3 separate regions of the Homo sapiens genome follow, and all the other regions are linked to region 1. Evidence: promoter capture Hi-C in human tissues and cell types (Jung and others, 2019). All regions are on one chromosome and are shown on one strand. The core of a region is centred on a gene start or on the middle of the fragment in contact, and the rest is flanking DNA. Distances in the headings are between cores, read along the strand shown.

Region 1 (2,872 bases), core at 245-2,744:
AAAAAAAAAAAAGAAAGAAAGAAAGAATGCTTCAGGCTGGCTTCCTGACATCTAATTAAGTCTTCCCACGTGCCAGACTCATACTAGTGCTTGACACAGGCTGGTGTTCTTGAGGCAGCCAACAGTCCTATGGAGTGGGGAGTACTATTATTATCCCCATTTGACAAACTTGGAAACTGAGGCTGATTGCACATAACGTGCTCATGATCAGCATGCTGGCATTTGGCAGAGCCAGGATTCAAATTCAAGTGTTGCAAATGCAGGGTTTCTCAACCACCATACTATCGGCTTGCTGGACTGCATAAGTCTTTGTGCATTGCAGGATGTTTGGCAATATCCCTGGCCTCTTGTCTATGACACTCTAGAACCAGCCCTCTGGCCCTTCCTGAGTGGGGACAACAAAAATGTTTCTGATATTCCCATATCTTCTGGGAGGTAAAATCTCTCCTGTCTGAGAACCACTGCTCTCTCACTCAAGCTGGGAGGCGGGAGACACAGCAGATATTACTATTGTTACTGCAGATGTGGGACTTGGTTGTTAGGGAAGATTTCCAATGGTGACATCAACCTCTGACCTGACCTGGAAAGGCAAGCAAGCACAGTTTCCCAGATTTGCAAGAAAGAGGAAAGCAAGCACAGTTTCCCAGATTTGCAAGAAAGAGGACAAAGCCTGTCTATTCATTCTCTCACTCCATAGGCATTTGCTGAGCACCTACAAAGTACCAAGCCCCAATCCAGCCTCTGGTGATAAAATGGCACAAAAAGAAAATTCCTGTCCTCCCAGACAATAAACAGACAAGTGAGGCAGGTGATGATAAAGGTCACAGGGAAAAACCAAGCAGTGGGGGGGTGAGGAAGGTGGGGGATGGGGAAGATGGGGGATGGGGAAGGTGGAGGATGAGGAAGGTGGGGGATGTGGAAGGTGGGGGGGTGGAAAGGGTGGGGGATGGGGAAGGTGGGGCTGGGGAAGGTGGGCGTAGGCATGCTGGCGGGAGTTAAATTTTAAATAAGATTGCCAGGGATGGCCTCACTGAGAAGGCAACATTTGAGCAGAGACCAGCAAGAGGGGAGGCATGGAGTCTAGCCGAGGTCTAGGGGAAGAATGGTGTACAGAGAATGGCTTGCCGTACAACAGCTCTGGGACATCCTCCACAGGCTGATGGATGGATGATAAGCTGGAGTTGAATCACAGAGTGGGGGGATGAGGTCCGAGGGCCGGTGGGAGGAATCGTGTTTATGATGTCCATTGTGACTTGGTGGCTTATCCAAGACTATTTCTAGTTAGCAGTGCCAGATTGTAAGCTGGGACTCTAGAACTTTCTTTTGTGGCTGGATCCGGCTGGATGGGCCACTTTCTTCTCTGCATGGGCCCTGTCCTAGAACCACATCCTCACCTGAGCCTGTGACTCACCTGGGCTGGGCCAGTGTTTGTGGGACCCAGGGAGGTGGGGGAGGACAGGTGTGACTTATAAGTGGAGGAGGTCTGCTGGCTCTGAACCATGTCCTAAATGGTTTACACTGCGCACAGCTTCCTCTCAGCCCGCTCTGAGCTGGAAGCAGCATGTGGGACCTGGCCCTGATCTTCCTCGCAGCAGCCTGCGTGTTCTCACTAGGGGTCACTCTGTGGGTCATTTGCAGCCATTTTTTCACTGTGCACATCCCTGCAGCGGTTGGCCACCCTGTGAAACTGAGAGTCCTCCATTGCATCTTCCAGCTGCTGTTGACTTGGGTGAGTTTTGTGCTTTATGTGTCCCCTCCAGCTGACCATTAAGGAAGGCGGCAGGAAAAATCACACACCGGAAGCTTCTAGCTGAATGAACACCGGTATCATGGGGCCTGCAGTGACAGCTGATCAGACCTTCTGAAATGTGCATAATCCCTATTAGGTGGTTCTCAGCCTCTTTGGGTGTTTCTGAAGCTGGCCCTGGCTAATATTCACAAAATTCAAAGAATGATCTGCTTTCTCAGTTAACAGAAAGAAAAAACCAGTCTGGTTCTATTCACCTGAGTGTCTCCCGCTGACTTTCTTTTTGTTGTTGTTGGTTTGTTTTATTTTTAAAATTGAGGTAAAATATGCATATAAAATTTACCATCTTTCGCATTTTTAAGTGTACCTTTCACGTGTCCATAAATGTGTCCATATTATTCACAGCACTCACCACTCTCAGAAGTTGTGAAGATATGAATGAATTTTCCTGAGTCTCTGGGCCCCCACTGCTATCTACCTGTTAGCTAGAGCCAGCAAGCCACAAAGTAAAAGGGTAGCGGATGAGTAGATTAGTGCCGGTGAGCAAAATTACAGAATGTGACTTTAAAAATATGTTGTTGCTTTTGAGAGCTAGAAAGCTGCCTAGGGAATATAGTTTGGTTCTGCTTCTGGTGTAATTTGTTAAAATACCTGTAAATGGAACTGTGTAGGTGTTGCCAATACGGATTTCTTGTACTTTTTCTTGTGCCTTGACAGAAACTGAATATACAAAATATTTTTTGTAAGTTTCTTACATAACGAAAAGCAATTGCCAGTGCCTCTTCTCAAGAGACACCCTAGGTGTGTCTTCTATGCTATTCAAAATAATTTCTATGCTATTCAAAAGAATGTAGCTATTACCTAAAAGAGAAGATCCCGGGAACTCTAGGCTTCTGATCTCCAGTCAGCTTTTATAAGATGCAGTGATTGGGTCCTAGGTTTTCCTACCCTTGATGCTCAGATTCTGTAGTCCAGGCTCCCAAATACAGTGACTCGATTTCCTCTTTTGCAAAGTAGGGAAAATTGCTCCTACTTCACAGGGTTTTGTGGAGACTCCATGAATAACCCTCTCCAGAAGGCTTATTATAATGCCTGACACAGAGGGAGCCCTCCTTAAATAGTAGC
Region 2 (2,872 bases), core at 171-2,670, 54 kb before region 1:
AACAGGGACTACCTGACATGCTTGGGAAAGGAGGAATGTCTGGGTTACATCGGGAAGATGACACCCAGGTTGGCCCCGGGTGTCTAGCAGAGGTCTTTACTTTGTCTGGGCCTTAAAATCACCTGCGAATTTTAAAGTCATATTCATACCCAGATCATACCCCAGGCTAAGTGGGCAGGACCCAGGCATCAGCATTTTTTTTTTGAGATGGAGTCTTGCTCTGTCACCCAGGCTGGAGTGCAGTGGCATGATCTCGGCTCACTGCAACCTCCGCCTCCCGGGTTCAAGCAATTCTTCTGCCTCAGCCTCCTGAGTAGCTGGGACTACAGGCATGTGCCACCATGCCCGGCTAATTTTTGTATTTTTAGTAGAGACGGGGTTTCACCATACTGGCCAGGTTGGTCTCAAACTCCTGACCTCGTGATCCACCCACCTCGGCCTCCCAAAGTGCTGGGATTACAGGCATGAACCAGGGCATCAGTATTTTTAAACAGCTCATCAGATGACTGCAATGTGCAGCCAGGGCTGAGACCTACTAGTATGGAAACTTCAACTTAGGGGCTGACTGCTCCGACTCAATTTAGACCCCTCTGTGCCTCTGGCTCCATTCAGAACCATTGTCATCTCCCTCAAAGAGCATTAATGAGGCATGCACCCACTTCAGCAACCTCCTCCAAACCCTGGAATTACCTGGTGTGATTTAGAAAATCCTGATGCCTGAGCTTCCATGCTAGAGATTCTGATTTAATTGGTTTGAGGTTTAGCCTGGGCCTGAGGACTTGTAAAAACTCCCTGGTACCTCTATGTATGGCTGAAGTTGAGAATGACTGCATTAGAAGTGTATTTGGCAGTGATTCTGTGTCTGCCACTGTGCTAGTATGTTCTACGTACTCATATTGACGGACCTGCCTCTGAGAACTTCATATGCACCACTCTACTCATAGAAACATCCCGTCCAACCCTTGTTTATTTCTTGATCAATATAAATTTATAGTTATTATTAACATCCTAGGGCAGGCATGCCTAACTTCCCTTGGTTTTTTTCCATTTCAGATCACTAAGATTTCCAGGTTCCTGGTTTCCTCCACTGTAAAATAAATGTTGCAGAAAGTGAGCCCCAAGGTGAATTTGAGTCCCAAAATTCAGGAGGCTGGGGACAGATGTATGATTTGGCCTGGTTTTTTGGCTCTGTCCAGGCAGAGGAGGCAAGGATAGAAACAGAGAGGATGCCACACCCCACACCAAGACTGTCAGCTGGCTCTTCCTGGGGGCTGTGGTGAGATGGTTTGGGTCCTACTCATGCGCTGCTGCTCTGAGTGTTTTTGTCTTGCAGATTGTTACCATGGCCTGTGCAATTATCTGGCCCGGGAGACTGAATCTGTACTTCTGATGATTGGGTGAGTTTCTGGAGACAGCTGGTAGGTTCCACAGGGGTGAGAGGAGATAGGGTAAGTTCATGGGTGATTTGTAGATCAGAGAGGCCCTAACTCCCAAGAGGCAACTCTTGGACATGCATCCACAGAGACAGGCGCAGCAGTGCTCGAAAGAGCAAAAACCTGAAAGCAACCCACATGTCCATGAACGGGGGCGTGCATGAATAAACCTCAGCACAGCAACTGTTAGATTACATAGCCAAGAAGATATTATGGATTTTTCCACAGCCATTTAAATAAATGAACTAGAAAGGTGTACCATGTTGCAAATGAATCTTAGTAGTATAAAACTAAGTGAAAAATGTTCAAAAAATTACATAAAGCCTGATACTCATTTTGCAAAGGTAAAAACGTTAAAACCAAAAGAATACTTTCGAGGAAAACACATAGACGTAACAAGACAATGTAACATAGAAAGAAAAAAATGATAGATACAGGATTCAGGGTAACCATTCATTAAGTTGGAGGAGAAGCAAAATGGCATGATGGTGGGGTTGGTGAAGGTGATGCGCAAGATTCTGGCTGTTGTTTGGGGTGATGGTTCTGCAGGTGCTTATTGCATTGTTAAAAACTAACTAAGCTTCTGGTCCTACAGGAACTAGTGTTGAGAGTGTCTTAAGATACAACCCTGGTCCTATAAAAACAAAAGGGAGATGGAGGCATCTTTAGAGTGGATGGAGGGGGCAGTAGGGGCTACTCACTAGGATTCTGGTTCTTGGCTCAAGAGATCTCACATCACTGGGAAAGAGTTTAGAGAAGGCCAGCGAGAGAAATTAAAATCTGCCTTTTTAGATTCTACCTCTACAATGGACCTCCTCAAACCTTAGCTGCCCCTAGGCTTTGGTAGACAGAATAGCTGTGTGACTTAAACAAAGTCACTTAACATCTCTGGTCCTCTCTGATGAGATTGAGGAAGCCAGCACTTTCTAGTATTCATCAACATACCTCCCAGGTGGCTTACCATTGTGTCTGAAATTCCACCATTACAGTCTATGTCACCAAAGCCCTTTGTGATAATAAAAACATCCCTTGAACAGGTAGCACATAAAGGTATCAATAAGCACCTGCATTAATACCTTGTAGGAAATTGCTTAGGATGCCATTATCCCAGATACTTAGACCTGGTGCACGGGCCAGGGCAGTTTTGATAGAGTGGCTCATGGAGCTGCATGCACAGATAAGGGCTTCCAGGAGGCTGCAGGGAGACAGTAGCTGAGAGGAGACTCCCTGAGAGACACTGAAGGAAGGGAGATGTCTAAGGCCTGGATGGGACTCCCTACCCGAACTCTTGGAGAAGATGGGTCTTTTGACCTTTGGTTCTGCGAAGCCTTCACCTCTGGGTGAGTTTCTTAGTTTGGGCTGCTGTAACAAATTACCATAGATGGGGCAGCTTAAACAACACTTTGATTTCTCAGAGTTTTGGAGGCTAGAAGTCCAGG
Region 3 (2,872 bases), core at 96-2,595, 41 kb after region 1:
ACCTATATCCCAGCACCTGGATCACACTCTTCCAACAGAATATAGGCAAAGAATGCAAGAAATAGCAACCAAAGGTAAATGATGCATATAGTCAGGAATCACATAAGGCACTGCAAAAGCAGCTGGCAGTGATGTATTTGGACAAACAGTGTTGTGTATTATCTGTGCTCCAGCTTCCTGTTCTTTCGCATGAAAAGTCAAGCACCATCCACACACCGTATTGACTGGGCACTTGTCTAGGAATCATGGTGTTCCAGGTGTTGGAAGCAGAGAGCAGGGCATTGCAACCTCAGAACATGCCCTCCACACCCAAGGAGGGGCATTTGAGACTATTATTATCTTTAGCAATCCCACTAGTGAGTATGTAGGAGACAATTATTAACTTGGTGTGCCAGAGGCTGAGATCCTGGCCCTTCCAGGAACAGCAGGGAAAGCCGTCTCCTGCAATAACCCCTGTGGGTAGCTCCCAGCAGGCACAGCCTGGGGAGAGCAAGCTTGTAGGTGCTCACCCACTGGGTGTGCAGCTGTGCTCTGTCCCCACCACACTCTGGGAGTTCCCTTGAGTTGTTTCTTTTGCCAGCCTGCTGCTCTTATAAGCGATTTCTGTCTCCCCACTCCCACCCCACCTGACCCTACTATACCTGCTTCAACTCAGGGTGGCAGCAGACAGACATGGATTAAGGTAGTGGACATCTTTTGGAATTGGGGCATTTTAGTGCTTGGAGGGACCCAAGAGATTCATTCAGCTCAGCGGCCCGAGGTGTGAAGTGGCTTTTTCAAAGCTGTGTGGCTTGTTGTTAGGGATGAAGCAAGTTGCTGCTCTGCAAATCAGGCAAAGAGTGTCCTCAGATTCCATTCCTCATCTGCCAGAGTCGCCTATTTGCATTCTGCATTTAGGGATCCATGTCAGGATAAGCAGCAACAGATTTTCAGCTCTGTGCTGGCAACCCCAGATGACTCCCTCATCCTCAGACCACACTGACATCTCCAAGCAAGCTGATGCTCTGGGGCTGCTGAGCTTCACCAGCAGTGCGCATTAAAGACACAAATGAATTTTAACATAAACAAGTCAAAGTTAGAACCCAGGATCTGGGGCTCTCAGCCTCTAACCATCCATGTATGTGAGGTATTGACCCTAGTTTTCAGTGCATTGCAGAACATTTAGATAGCCTTTGGACCCATTACAAGCTCTGACTAAGAGTTTAACATACAGTCTGGTTAAAATTAAGAACTCCACCCACCACCCCCCCGCATTGTCATCTCCAACAGAACAGACGATGGAATATTCATTTCTTTTTTTCTTTTCTTTTCTTTTCTCTTTTCTTTTCTTTCTTTTTCTTTTTTTTCCTTTTTTTCTTTTCTTTTTTTTTGAGATAGAGTCTCTCTCTGTCCCCCAGGCTAGAGTGCAGTGGTGTGATGTTGGCTCACTGAAACCTCAGCCTCCTGGGTTGGAACAATTCTCCTTGCCTCAGCCTTCCAAGTAGCTGGGATTACAGGTGTGTGCCAACACAGCTGGCTAATTTTTTTTGTATTTTTAGTAGAGATAGGGTTTTGCCATGTTGGTCAGGCTAGTCCTGAACTCCTGGTCTCAAGTAATCTGCCCACCTTGGCCTCTCAAACTGCTGGGATTACAGGCGTGAGCCACGGCACCTGGCCCTGAATATTTATTTTTAAGGTTTCTGTTCAAATTGCCTGCTTGTGGGATGGGGCCCTGAACATAACCCTGCTTCCACACAGCTGCTTCAACTCTGTCAGCTCTTCTGTTTGCTTCATGTTGCCCTCCTTCTCCTAGGACAGCTTCCTCCTCCATCTCCCACTCCCACTTTGCTCTTCCTTGTTAGGCAAAAATGACTCCAAAGCCCGTATCCCCAACCGCCTCCTTTATCTAATTCTCACATACCAAGCCAATATTTCCTCTGCCTTAAATCACCCCAGGGCCAAGTAGTGGACACTAGAGACCTCCCCTAGGGCCCAGAGCCCACAAAAACTATTCACACTATCCAGTCCTAAACTTGTCCACCGTGCCTCGCCCAATGGTTCCCATGGAAACCACAGTAAAGGCTCTGGGCCCTGCCCCTCCACCTTGTTCCTTCTGCCTCCCGACCAGAGACCAATGCTGGTTCTTCCTGATGTGGCCCTGCAGGGCATGGCGTGCCCTTCCTCTTGAGAACTGTAAGTAACAAGCTCTCCTTTCAAAGGTAGCTGTCTCTGTGGCTGTCACTTTCCCAAACCCTAATAAGGAAAAATCCCAGGCATACAGTAAAGACACACCCCAAATCAAGAGAAACTGCAAGAAAATTCCTCCTGGCCTCTCTACCTCCCATGCCACGAGGCTGCTTCTGCAATTCCCTTTGTTGATGGGAAACCCTCCAAGTCACTTTGGCATTAGAAATACACTATGGGGTACCTGGTGATGTGGATCTTGGGAATCCTGCTTAATGTCTGTGCCCACCCCCCTTGTCTTCCTCTGGCATTGTGATCTGACTTATTTATGGGGCCACCACTTGAAATATTGGGTGCAGCCGGCATTTCCAGACCATAGCAGACACAGGCCTCCCTGTCTGCTCCAGACAAGAGGGCAAGCATGGAAATCAACATTATGCCCCCTTGTAAGTCAGTGCAGATCCCCAGGATTCCCTTCTGGGCCCAAGAGGATTTTCTTAGGAAAAGCACTGATTCAGGCAAACATCCCAGAGTAAGGAGAACATGGCTTTCTTCTCACTGTAAATTACTCCTCACCAAAGAAATCACTCCCCTAGTTTCCAGCTGAGCAAGCTGTAAATCCTGTGCAAGAGAAGGCAATTTATGGGGTGTTCTCTGATTCTTCCCACAGTAACAGACTGAAATATAAGGCATACATGTCAGGCTGGCT

What was found. Contacts are between HindIII fragments. The study calls those that stand out against the background at their distance.
Region 2: a fragment that was not itself captured here is called in contact with the fragment with the promoter of AADACL3 in region 1 in 1 of the 25 tissues and cell types used here (thymus).
Region 3: a contact is called between a fragment that was not itself captured here and the fragment with the promoter of AADACL3 in region 1, in 1 of the 25 tissues and cell types used here (thymus).

What each region holds. Positions count from the first base shown.
Region 1 is chr1:12,714,616-12,717,487 of GRCh38, forward strand. AADACL3 (arylacetamide deacetylase like 3) reads left to right here and starts at 1,495. Exons shown (of 4, transcript NM_001103170.3): 1 at 1,495-1,729. The coding sequence starts at 1,562. RefSeq lists an enhancer at 970-2,169. The HindIII fragment of the contact is 8,121 bases long and covers 1-2,872 here.
Region 2 is chr1:12,660,458-12,663,329 of GRCh38, forward strand. AADACL4 (arylacetamide deacetylase like 4) reads left to right here. Exons shown (of 4, transcript NM_001013630.2): 3 at 1,334-1,397. Among named protein-coding and RNA genes, the nearest start is that of AADACL4, 18 kb to the left of the region's middle. The HindIII fragment of the contact is 4,685 bases long and covers 1-2,872 here.
Region 3 is chr1:12,756,030-12,758,901 of GRCh38, forward strand. All of the region lies in intron 2 of CFAP107 (cilia and flagella associated protein 107), which reads left to right. Among named protein-coding and RNA genes, the nearest start is that of CFAP107, 11 kb to the left of the region's middle. The HindIII fragment of the contact is 5,337 bases long and covers 1-2,872 here.